Regions from separate parts of the Homo sapiens genome. Here region 2 is linked to region 1. The links are contacts of gene promoters, found by promoter capture Hi-C in human tissues and cell types (Jung and others, 2019). All regions are on one chromosome and are shown on one strand. The core of a region is centred on a gene start or on the middle of the fragment in contact, and the rest is flanking DNA. Distances in the headings are between cores, read along the strand shown. Region 1 holds the start of PDE8B (phosphodiesterase 8B). Region 2 overlaps WDR41 (WD repeat domain 41).

Evidence for each region. Contacts are between HindIII fragments. The study calls those that stand out against the background at their distance.
Region 2: a fragment that was not itself captured here is called in contact with the fragment with the promoter of PDE8B in region 1 in 3 of the 25 tissues and cell types used here (aorta, dorsolateral prefrontal cortex and heart right ventricle).

Annotation. Positions count from the first base shown.
Region 1 is chr5:77,209,091-77,214,599 of GRCh38, reverse strand. PDE8B (phosphodiesterase 8B) reads right to left here and starts at 3,920. Exons shown (of 22, transcript NM_003719.5): 1 at 3,336-3,920. The coding sequence starts at 3,674. The HindIII fragment of the contact is 4,534 bases long and covers 1,380-5,509 here.
Region 2 is chr5:77,464,803-77,470,294 of GRCh38, reverse strand. WDR41 (WD repeat domain 41) reads left to right here. Exons shown (of 13, transcript NM_018268.4): 3 at 5,486-5,492. Among named protein-coding and RNA genes, the nearest start is that of WDR41, 25 kb to the left of the region's middle. The HindIII fragment of the contact is 3,217 bases long and covers 960-4,176 here.

The DNA.
Region 1 (5,509 bases), core at 2,671-5,170:
AGGATTATCCTCACAAATTCTGGAGTGCTATGGAACAGAAAACATAGCAGTCACTAATAACTGGCTTAGGCACACCATTTTACAGGAGATTTATCCTCCTCATTAGGCTTTGCTTACCAAATTTCATGGATATTTCCTGAATCGCTAGCACCTACAACACAGTCTGGCCACAAATACTGAATGAACAAATGAGCACATTCTGTATGAATGGAGGGAAAACGGGGAGCTGGTGATGCTGCCATCTGGAAACTAACAACATCCTGTGTCTGATCCACAAAAGAGTGAACCTACACAGAGGTCATAGCAAGTTGACGATATTGTCAATAACGATTCTTCTCTACAACTGGCTGTCTAGTCCCAGATGCTCCCAAGTAGGAACAGCTGGTATGAGAAAACTTGTAAGAATCCCTGGTTCTTCCCAGAGAGAGGTTCAACCATCTCCTCTGAGGATTTCTGAACAAGAATTACAAAACTGGCACAATATCAAGAGTGAACATCCTGCAGGATTCTCCTGTTGGAGTACTATTTTTGAAAAGGCAAGCAAAAAGGAAAGAAATTGCTAGGAAGTTGCATTTTCACAGCAATTGGGAGACAAATCTAACTTCTTACCAGAAATGGAAACCCATGTGATATCATTGTACTGCATATGAATTATTAATGCTTATAACCCTTTTTTTTTTGCAAATTAGGTATTCAGGAAGGTTCCTGTTGACATCATGTTTGACATCATAATGCCTCATCATTCTAAAAGCTTAATGAGATGAATTATTGCTAGAAAAGAGAGAGAGAGAGATCAAGCACACATTTTTGCACTCTGGGGAATACCAGAGGCCAAGTAGATAATGAGGATACACTTCATAATTGATGTAAAATGGCCAGGGGGAGGGGGTGGAAACTATTACAACCTTCCACCACTGTAAACAGGACCAAATGGTAAAGATTTTATTTTTCCACCTGTGTGCTTTGGAAAGGGGTGGGGCACCACCACGTGCCTAGCAACTATCTCAAACTCTTACGGCAAAAAAAGAATGCTTAGTCTACAAAAAAATGAATGTAAAGTTTTTATAAAATTATCTCAGCAACAAAAGGGCACAGAACATGTGAACTTTACGATTGAGAAAAGACAATACAACACCGAGTCACAGGCCTAAAAGGATACTATTAAATATATTAGGGCAGTTCTGTGATAATAATTCTGTAAGATTTGCATAAATAACTCTGGTCTCAAATTTCACTTCAAATATATACTTTCTGAGATCCACACAATGCAAAGTAGTGTTAAGTCAATGAACCAGGGGTTTCATTTCCAACATTCCCAGTAATGGGTTAGAGTGAATTAAGCTCTTATTTGGGAATCTTCTTGATAAAGCAAAATGAGTTAAACTCCTACCCAGGTCAAGCCTTTTAATACTTAAGCCAAGTAGCAATGAGATTAATACAAGTTTATACAAGCTGCTAATAATTGGGGCTCATTGTCCCTTCAGTTTTTACTTCATTTGGTCTCTAAGCAGCCTCTTGAGGGAAGTATTAAAAATGTACAGAATGGGTTCATTCAGTATTCTTTCTTCTACTGAACAAACATGGAGTAGCTAGAGTTGCCAAGTACTAAACTGAGATTATAGATATTCTAGAAAACAAAAATTCACAATTTCTCTGGAGCAACCAAAAAAAGTATCACAAAGTTCATGAGCTGTCACAATTTTGAACTACTGCTTCAGGTCTTCAACCGTCAGGCAAAAGGATGGTCTTTACTGATAATATCCCAACTTAATATTTTCACCAAATTTAACATTTTCATCCCTGAAAATTGCTCCTAAAGCTAACTTTGTGTGAACAGGGAGGGGGAGAGAGAGAGAGCTTGACAAAAGCAAAGTATAGCGTTCAGCACATGCCTCTGTAACGAATGGGCAACTGGTAGGTTTGTACTGTCATAAATCCTAGACTCTAGTCTTCAGACATGCTATGCTAAGATCACACTGTTAACATTCAATAGTTAGGAGAGAAAGCTTACTCCTGGCACATAGTAGGTGCTCAATAAACGATGTTTTTACTATAATGGTGATTATGATTACTGCCAGAGAAACACTGCAACCACAAGCAAACATCAGTCAAGCTTCATGTTAAACAATCAGATGCTGTTAAAAAAAAAATAGGTTCATTAAAAAACTTTTGGACTTCCAGATTGAAGCCAAAACATGTTATCCTTCTCCTCACTCCTCCACTGTGGGCTGCCTTCATCCAATGAAGACCAAGTTTTTAACTATTAAAAATACAAATGTGTCTTTGACAAATAATCCATGGAATGGTTCTTGGTAACCTATTGACCAGGTAAAGGCTGTGATTCTATCTGACATTAGGAGTATTTTTTTCTCTCTGTACAATAGGATATGCCATTGTTATCTTGTTTGCTGAAAGGAAAAAAGACCCAGTGCCCAGATTTACACAATGAAAAGCCTCTTGGATTTAACGGTACTTTGAGAACATACGGGAGGACACTATTTAAATAATTATTTTTCTTCTGTCTTTAAGAAATAAATATTTAGCGACTGCTTTAACCATCTAAACAATTTTTTCCACTTCCTCAAAATCCCACTCTCTGGGAAGATCAGTTGTATGTGCAGAATCATCCTCAGACAGCTGTACTGCACTGGAAACCACGTCCCCTCACGGTGGCTCTGCTGACACTCCGAACTCATGGCCCGGTTCTCTCAATTCTGTCTAGGATGCAGCCAACCCAGAGAAACGTTACAGTGACAAACAACAGGTTCCACTCTGCTCCGTTCCCACATCTCTTAAAACACGAACACTCATTCATTCACAAATCCCTACGCTCGGTTCCTGTGCTGAGACTCCAGCCTGGCTGGTAATCCCAGGTAAAAATCGGAATATGGGGCACTATCTATCCTGGTGCTGCAACTGCACCAGTCACCTACAAGGCACGCAAATCCAGCTCAGTGCTCAGATTTCATTCAACAGGACTGGCCACCGAATGCTCTCAATGGTCCCCACCCCTCTTCCTGCATAAACCAAGCCACAGCCTTCCTGCCCTCAAGGAGGAACAGGCCAGCCCACCTGCTTCCTTCTGCGCTCCCTTCCCCGCCCAGTCCCCCAGGACCAGCTAAGGACGCTTCCAGGACCCCTCCAGGGGCCTTTTTCTGACCACATTTCCTGGGCTCCCATCATCTCCACAAATGAAAAGTAAACTCCTCCTTAGTGACAACCTCTCCAAACCAACCGCCTCACGGTCACCCAACTCCGCCGGAGCCCCCTACCCGTGCGAGCCCCGCCGACGGGGCGGACGGCCCCCACGGCGTGTGCCAGCGCGGGGCATTTACCTTCACGCTGGTGTAGCAGGTCTGAGTCTCGGCCTCGGCGCTGCTGCAGCAGTGGCGCCTCCGGCCCCTGCTGGTGGTCGCGGCGGGGGCTGCGGAACCCGCGCTGCTACCGCTGCCCAGCTCGGTGCGGGCCCTGCGGACGCGGGCTACGCTGGGGGGTCCCGACGCGCGGCTCGGGGGGATGGCGTCGGCGGCGTCGGTCTGGACGAAGAGGCCGGGCAGGGGTGCCGCCGGGCCCTGCGACACGCTGGTGGTCTGGCGGGGCGAGCTGGACTCGTCCGAGTCCCGGCAGTAGATCACGCCGCTCTGCGAGACATGGATGCTGGGGGCGCAGCCCATCCCTCGGCCGGGCTCCCCCGCGCGCCCGCCCGCGCCCGCGGCCGCCGGGACCCAGCGCACCCGCTGCCACCTGCAGTGAGGGGGCGGCCGCGGCGGCGCCCGGACTGCGCGCCCCCCGGCCTGTGTGTCCGCCGCTCCGTCGGGCTGGCCGCGGTGCCCCCCGCCGAGCCTCCGGGGACCGCGCGCGTCACCCCAACTTTCCCTTTTGGGCCATCTTCCTCCCCGAGCGGGGGAGCGCGCATACACAGCGCCCCGCGCGCACCAGCGGCCGCCACCCTCCCCGCCGCGGCGCCCCAAACACGCTCCCCGCGCCTCCGCCTTCCCCTCCTCCCTCGGCGCGGCCCCCGCCGCCGCCCAGCTCGACCTCGCCGGGCTCCCGCACCCGCGGCCCTGGGCCAGGGCGCCCGCCCGCCTGCCCGCCTGCCTGCACCTTCTTTCCCCACTTTCGGTCTGCGCCCGTCCCCTCCCTCCCTCGCTCCCACCCTCCTTCCTCCTCAGGTGCCCCGGCTCCGCGGCCGCAGCCGCCCGGGCCCCACTGCGCCCCTCCGCCCCTCCCGCCGCTCCCGGAGCTCTCCCGACAGGGCAGAGCGTGCCCGCGGCTCGGCTCCGCCGCGGGGCCCCTGTGCGCGGCAGCTGGCACCGCGCCTCGGCGCCCTCCCCTCCTCCTCCGCTGTCCAGAGGCCTCGTCTCTTCTGCACTCATCCCGACGCCGCCCCCAGCGCCCCAGCCCCTCTTCCCCTGAAGGGCTGTGTAAGCCTCTCGCTTTTCACCAACACATTTTCACACATCCCAGAGCTAAACACCAGGAGGCCCCTCCCGAAATGGCAGGGGCCCTACAGCCCAGGCCCACCCACCGCATTTGCTTGCCTCTCAACACACCCGGGAAGTGATGGAGAGACCTCATGGTTCCGTCCTCTTCCCCCAGCCCCACCGCCTACTCCGAAGGCTGAGTTGGATGGTGACCCAGTCTTCAGAAGAAGCCCATTCCATGTCTACTCATCGTTTGGAAGTTTGTGCCAAGGGATGGGAGGCCCTGCGGAGGAAGGCACCCTTGAACACATACGTTCCCCTAAGATCCAAGGCAAGAACAGAAAGAAGCTGTCTGATGGTTCTTGGCTTTCTCCCCCATTTTCACCTCTTCCTTAGGTGTCACTAAATGTTCATGCTGGTTTCTATCCCGTCCAGCCGCCCATGTCAACTGCTGTTCCTCACACTCTGGGCTGGGCAGTCAACAAGGCCTTCCCTCATTCTCCTTGGTGAGGCATGCACAGACTGAGCTGTGCTGGAGGAGAGGAAGAATGCCTTTAGAAGGATGGCTGCTGTTCATCCTTCCCTTGTAAACTCTGAGTTACAGCTGCGAGACACCACTGCCCATTCAGTCACTGGTTCCCGCAGTAATTCCTGCCCGATTTTCACAATGGCACGGGGAGATAAATTAGATGGTCTAAGAAAGGATTTTATCTAGAGTTGCTTATACGGACAAGGGCAGTAACATAGAGGCTTAATGCAAGGCACAAAGAAGTATCCAATTTTAAGGTTTGTTTTTTGTTTTTTTTTCATTCTTATTTTCCTTTTTCTTCCTGGACCACTCTTGGATGTGACTGGATGAAGACTTCAAAAGACAGTTTCTAAATTTCATAGAGAAGCAAGATATCATTCCCAATCCCAAATTCAGTTATACAGGGAGAGTCTAACCTTATTCTTCTACCTTTGCTTCTCTTCTCAGTTTAGCTCTCTTTTTTTGATACAAAAAAACTCCATCTCCAGCTAACCTGGAAAAAGTCTATGCTGTATTTTTTAATGGACAGGCAAATTGCTCATAAAATTTCTGCACA
Region 2 (5,492 bases), core at 1,319-3,818, 260 kb before region 1:
CTTTCCATGTTTAGTGCTTCCTTCAGGAGCTCTTTTAAGACAGGCCTGGTGGTGACAAAATCTCTCAGCATTTGCTTGTCTGTAAAGTATTTTATTTCTCCTTCACTTATGAAGCTTAGTTTGGCTGGATATGAAATTCTGGGTTGAAAATTCTTTTCTTTAAGAATGTTGAATATTGGCCCCCATTATCTTCTGGCTTGTAGAGTTTCTGCCAAGAGATCTGCTGTTAGTCTGATGGGCTTCCCTTCGTGGGTAACCCGACCTTTCTCTCTGGCTGCCCTTAACATTTTTTCCTTCATTTCAACTTTGGTGAATCTGACAATTATGTGTCTTGGAGTTGCTCTTCTCGAGGAGTATCTTTGTGGCGTTCTCTGTATTTCCTGAATCTGAATGTTGGCCTGCCTTGCTAGATTGGAGAAGTTCTCCTGTATAATATCCTGCAGAGTGTTTTCCAACTTGGTTCCATTCTCCCTGTCACTTTCAGTTACACCAATCAGACGTAGATTTGGTCTTTTCACATAGTCCCATATTTCTTGGAGGCTTTGTTTCTTTTTATCCTTTTTTTCTCTAAATTTCTCTTCTCACTTCATTTCATTCATTTGATCTTCCATCACTGATACCCTTAGCATTTTTTCAATGTTATTTTATTGTAAATGTAATAATGACTTCAGGCAGTGATTATTGATGGGTGTTAACATCACACACACGCAAAAATGACTGCCAGAAATTTGTTTCCTAATGGAGTATACAAACTGCTTATGAAATGGTCTTACCAAAGAGTCAGATTTGAATTGGATTAAGTCTGTAGATTTAAGGATCAGTTTTCTAAAAATACAGAATACAGAGGTGCATGTTAGATGACAACAGAGGAAAGTAGTCAGCAAAATCTGGGCTGTGAGAATTATACAGGAGAGACAACTAGGGTACATGTGCACAACATGCAGGTTTGTTACATATGTATACATGTGCCGTGTTGGTGTGCTGCACCGATTAACTCATCATTTACATTAGGTATGTCTCCTAATGCTATCCCTCCCCCCTACCCCCACCCCACGACAGGCCCTGGTGTGTGATGTTCCCCTTCCTGTGTCCAAGTGTTCTCATTCTTCAGTTCCCACCTATGAGTGAGAACATGTGGTGTTTGGTTTTTTGTCCTTGGCGATAGTTTGCTGAGAATGATGGTTTCCAGTTTCATCCATGTCCCTACAAAGGACGTGAACTCATCCCTTTTTATGGCTGCATAGTATTCCATGGTGTATATGTGCCACATTTTCTTAATCCAGTCTATCATTGATAGACATTTGGGTTGAAGAGAGACAACTTTTTTCAACAAAAAGATTGCAAGGAAGAAAAAGATGGAGAACAAAACCATAGAAAAAAGAGACTTTAGAGATATATCAAGCAGTTGTGCTATATAGACCTTATTTAGATCCTGCGTCTTACTGTACAAAAAAAATGATGAGATGATCATGGAAACTGTATAGTATTTTAGTTTTATCATGCATTAGAAAGTACTTGCAGGTTAGGTGGAAAGTTAACCACTGGGGTGCCTGTACTGCCATAATAATGTCGTATTAAGATTTTTATTTTTTCAGTGCCTTATGTAGACATTGAATACAGGAAGATTTATGGTTCAGGTTTATGGACTATACTTTTTATGTCCTTTAAGGTAACATTTGAATTTTTGGGACCTTCACTTAGTTGAAAGGCCTTCACATGAGTAAGAACTATTAAATGAGCATTTAGCTATTGGACATAAGAATTATTGTGAAAACAATTTATTTTTTACAAATCTTTATTAAGCTTTGCTGTAGTTTTCAGCCCACTGTTGGAAGGAACGAGAGAATACTTTCTCAGAGATGTTCAAAGAGAAGATGTTTAGAGGGAATTATTTTTATACATTAAGATGGTTGTAAGTGAGAATTCTCTAAGGACTCATGATCTAGACCCTATAGCATCACATGGTAATGTTGGACTGTGAGTTCTTGAATGGCAAGAACAATCTCTTGATCTTTATTCTTAGGTTTAAGCATCTATATAGTTAGTGCTTAGTAAGTATTGAATTACCGAGTGACTTATGGACTATCATAATAAATTTAGTTCTCATAATTAGGGGATGAGAGGATGAAACATTCTAGGAGGTCTGCCATAGGTCTTTGTTAAACCATGTTTCACCTTGTTGAACTTGTTTTTCATGAATGTAAGTTTTGCTTAGTCATTTAATTGTGTAGTCTCAAGGAGTATTTTTAACAACTTGGGTTTTTTTTGTTTTTTGTGTTTTTTTTGAGATGGAGTCTTGCTCTGTTGTCCAGGCTGGAGAGTGGTGTGATCTTGGACTTGGTTTTAAGTTAAAGAAAAAACCTGAAGTATATGGATAAGAATTGGACAGGAATATGAAAAAATATAGAAATTTATTTTTGTGTGGTAGGGATTCTGGGTTTTAAATTTTTAAGTTTCTATTTTTTGTGGTAGTATATTTACATTAATTATGATAAAAGGAAAATATGGGGTTACATTGCCATCATTAATCAATCTATTTCACAGAGCCCTTGAACACTTAAATGTTTGCTTATGCATTCACTTATTCATTCAACAAGCATTTCTTTAGCACTTAAAACCTGCCAGAGATAATCAGAGATTCATTAGACTGGCAAGTGCCATGTTATAAAGATAAAGATCAATAAATATGGTAATTCTTAGAGTTCATGATTCTAAGAAGCATATTTTTTTCTATTTTGACATCTCTAAAATTTGGACACATCATATAATTGTGTGTTTCAATTGTAATTGGCAGTATGTTTTCCTTAATGGTAAATAAAATAAGAGTGTCTTACAATTGATGTCTTAGATTTGATGAAATACGGTACATTTCTAAACAATCATAAAGTTTTAAGATCTCAAAGCAAGAACCACATGTAAGGTGTCTTCACATTTCCCTAACTCCTAGCACGGAATCACACTGAATACATTTTTTGCTAATCGGTAAAGAAACATTTCTCTCAAAATCTTATCTTTAGGCTTAAGTTTTTGCTTTCTGTTACTTTAGAATGTTTTTAAAAATTAGTATGTAAAATGTTATCTGGCAATATTACTATTCTTCCATTGGATAGAATAGCTTAAACTTTATTGACATTTTAATCCTTTTTTTATTTTATAGTTCATTACTTCTTTTCAGCAGTTACACTATACCTTACAATTAGGAATTCTTGGGTTGTATTTCCATTTCTGATTTGGAGATGGTTGAAGTGTATGCTTGACTGACTAGGATTTAGTTTAAGATAAACTGATAAAGTATAGCTAGTTTTTTGTTATCCATCATAATAGGATGGGTAATTGTAATTTGTGAATGATATCTCAACCCTTTATTAGTTTTTTTATGACAGGTACTAATATGTGTCAAAGTTATACTGGTTTGTATTTTAAAGCTTAATGTTTCCTCTTTAGGGGAGGTAGTAATAAATACTGAAATGGCAAAAAAAAAAAAAAAATGGTAGCAATAGAATATATATAAGAATAGAAGGCCTGAATAATCTACCAACCAGGTAATTGACCTTGCAGCAATAAAAAATTGACTGTGATTTCATGCATTACTATTGAGCCTTATTTAGATTTAACTTTTGTTCCCTACTGATTGAATTAAAGTTTGAGGTTAAATGCTCTATATCCCATTTCTAAACTCTCAGCTGTTCTCAGTCATCTCTCATTGTGAACTCATGAAAGTCAAACATGATAAAACAATCATAAGAAGTTAAAAATTAGGGTTAGAAAAAAAGTATGTATTTTAAACTTGCTGTCTTCTAAATGCAATTTTAAGTTTAAAGAATCAATAGAAATTGATGTTTTATACCAAAGAACACTTAAGACCTTGAGTCCTGCCCTCCCCACCATCACTATACAAATAAAAAGAAATCAATAGGCCCAGAAACATAAGCTGCTAAAGATTTATTTCCAGCAACTATTTTTGATATTCAAGGTACTATTTACTAATCTGATTGAGAAAATGTAGATAATTAAGCATAGGAAATCTATTTTTATTTTAAAAATGATCATTTTCTTTTTAATCTCCGGATCTTTTATATGTTACATTTTAAAATAAGAATAAATGATAGGCATGGATTTAAAAATAACTCTTTGTGATTTTTAGCTAGTTACCTAAATTTAACAGGTCCATTCTGTTAAAAAGATAGGTAGTTCTGTATTTAAAAATTATTAAAAGACTGTCAGACTGTATTTGATCAATTTCATGTCTCCTGAATAATCTTGGTTCTACCAGTAGTAGATGTACTCAAAGGATTTTGAAATAAGAACTGAGTATTGGAATTGTCTGAGCCAGTGAAGGCACTGAACTTTGAAACTGAAGATAAGAAATTTGAACATGAAACTCAGTTTGGAGTGTTAAGGAAAGTATTTCATGACTGAAATAGTGGGATTTTGTTATCTCATAAAGGGGTAAAAAATCCATTAGAACAGATGCTCACATAGCATCTGTTAATTATAAGGGGCCAGTTATATGTCATTCATAGCTGGCTCTCTTTAACACCACTTCTTTCTCTCATACTGAAAAAAAAAAAAAGCCTGAATTTGAGTGAAAGCAATATTATGGGGACAACTTTAAATTGATTCTGAGTCATTAAAAATTATTTACAAACTTGTGGATGACATTAACAGTAAATTATTTGACATGCTTATGATGTGATTATTTATACTACTTTGTTGCGTTAGTATAATAAGATGGTGAATTTTAGTATAATATGGTGATGAATAATCCTGTATGACAGGTTATTCCTTTTGATAGTGTTTATGTTCAGAATATCTTCTACTCTACAGAATTTGGTGATTGTCCCTGTGATATGGTGAATGGGATATAAAAAGGAGAGAGAAGCTATAGCAGACTATCACAGCTCATTTTTCATGCCATAAGACAAGCTTTACCTGTGCATTTCAAGCATCTTCACTAAAAAGCAACAAAAAAACCCTAAAAAATCCTCAAATCTTCCAAACCAAGAACAAAGCATTTATGTGGAAAGACTAAGGAGTTGAGCTGAGCAAAAGAGAGATCTTGACTTTAAATAATAATTATTTACAGAGAGAATAATAGAAGTAATGAATTTATTTAACATCGTAATCACTTCCTAGAATATCACTTCCTGTCACTGAAGGCACTTGTCAGCTTGGTTTCATTTCACTTAAGTCAGGGATTTCTTAAAATCATAGAATTTTAAAGCAAAGAAGGACTTTAAAGATTATTTTTACATTTCTAGCAGTTTATTCTTTGTAAACTTATAAATGTCTTATTTATCTTTTGATCTTCCATACCTGGTACAGAAGCTGGAATGTGTTTCATAAATATTTTTTAAATTAGCTGAAATAACTTGATCTTCGTTAATATTAGTCAAAATACCACTAATAAGGTTTGATAGTTCTTAATCTTAGTAATTAAATGTCACCAGTGATTTTTTTTTCTTGACCCTTTCTCCCTAACCAGATTTGCA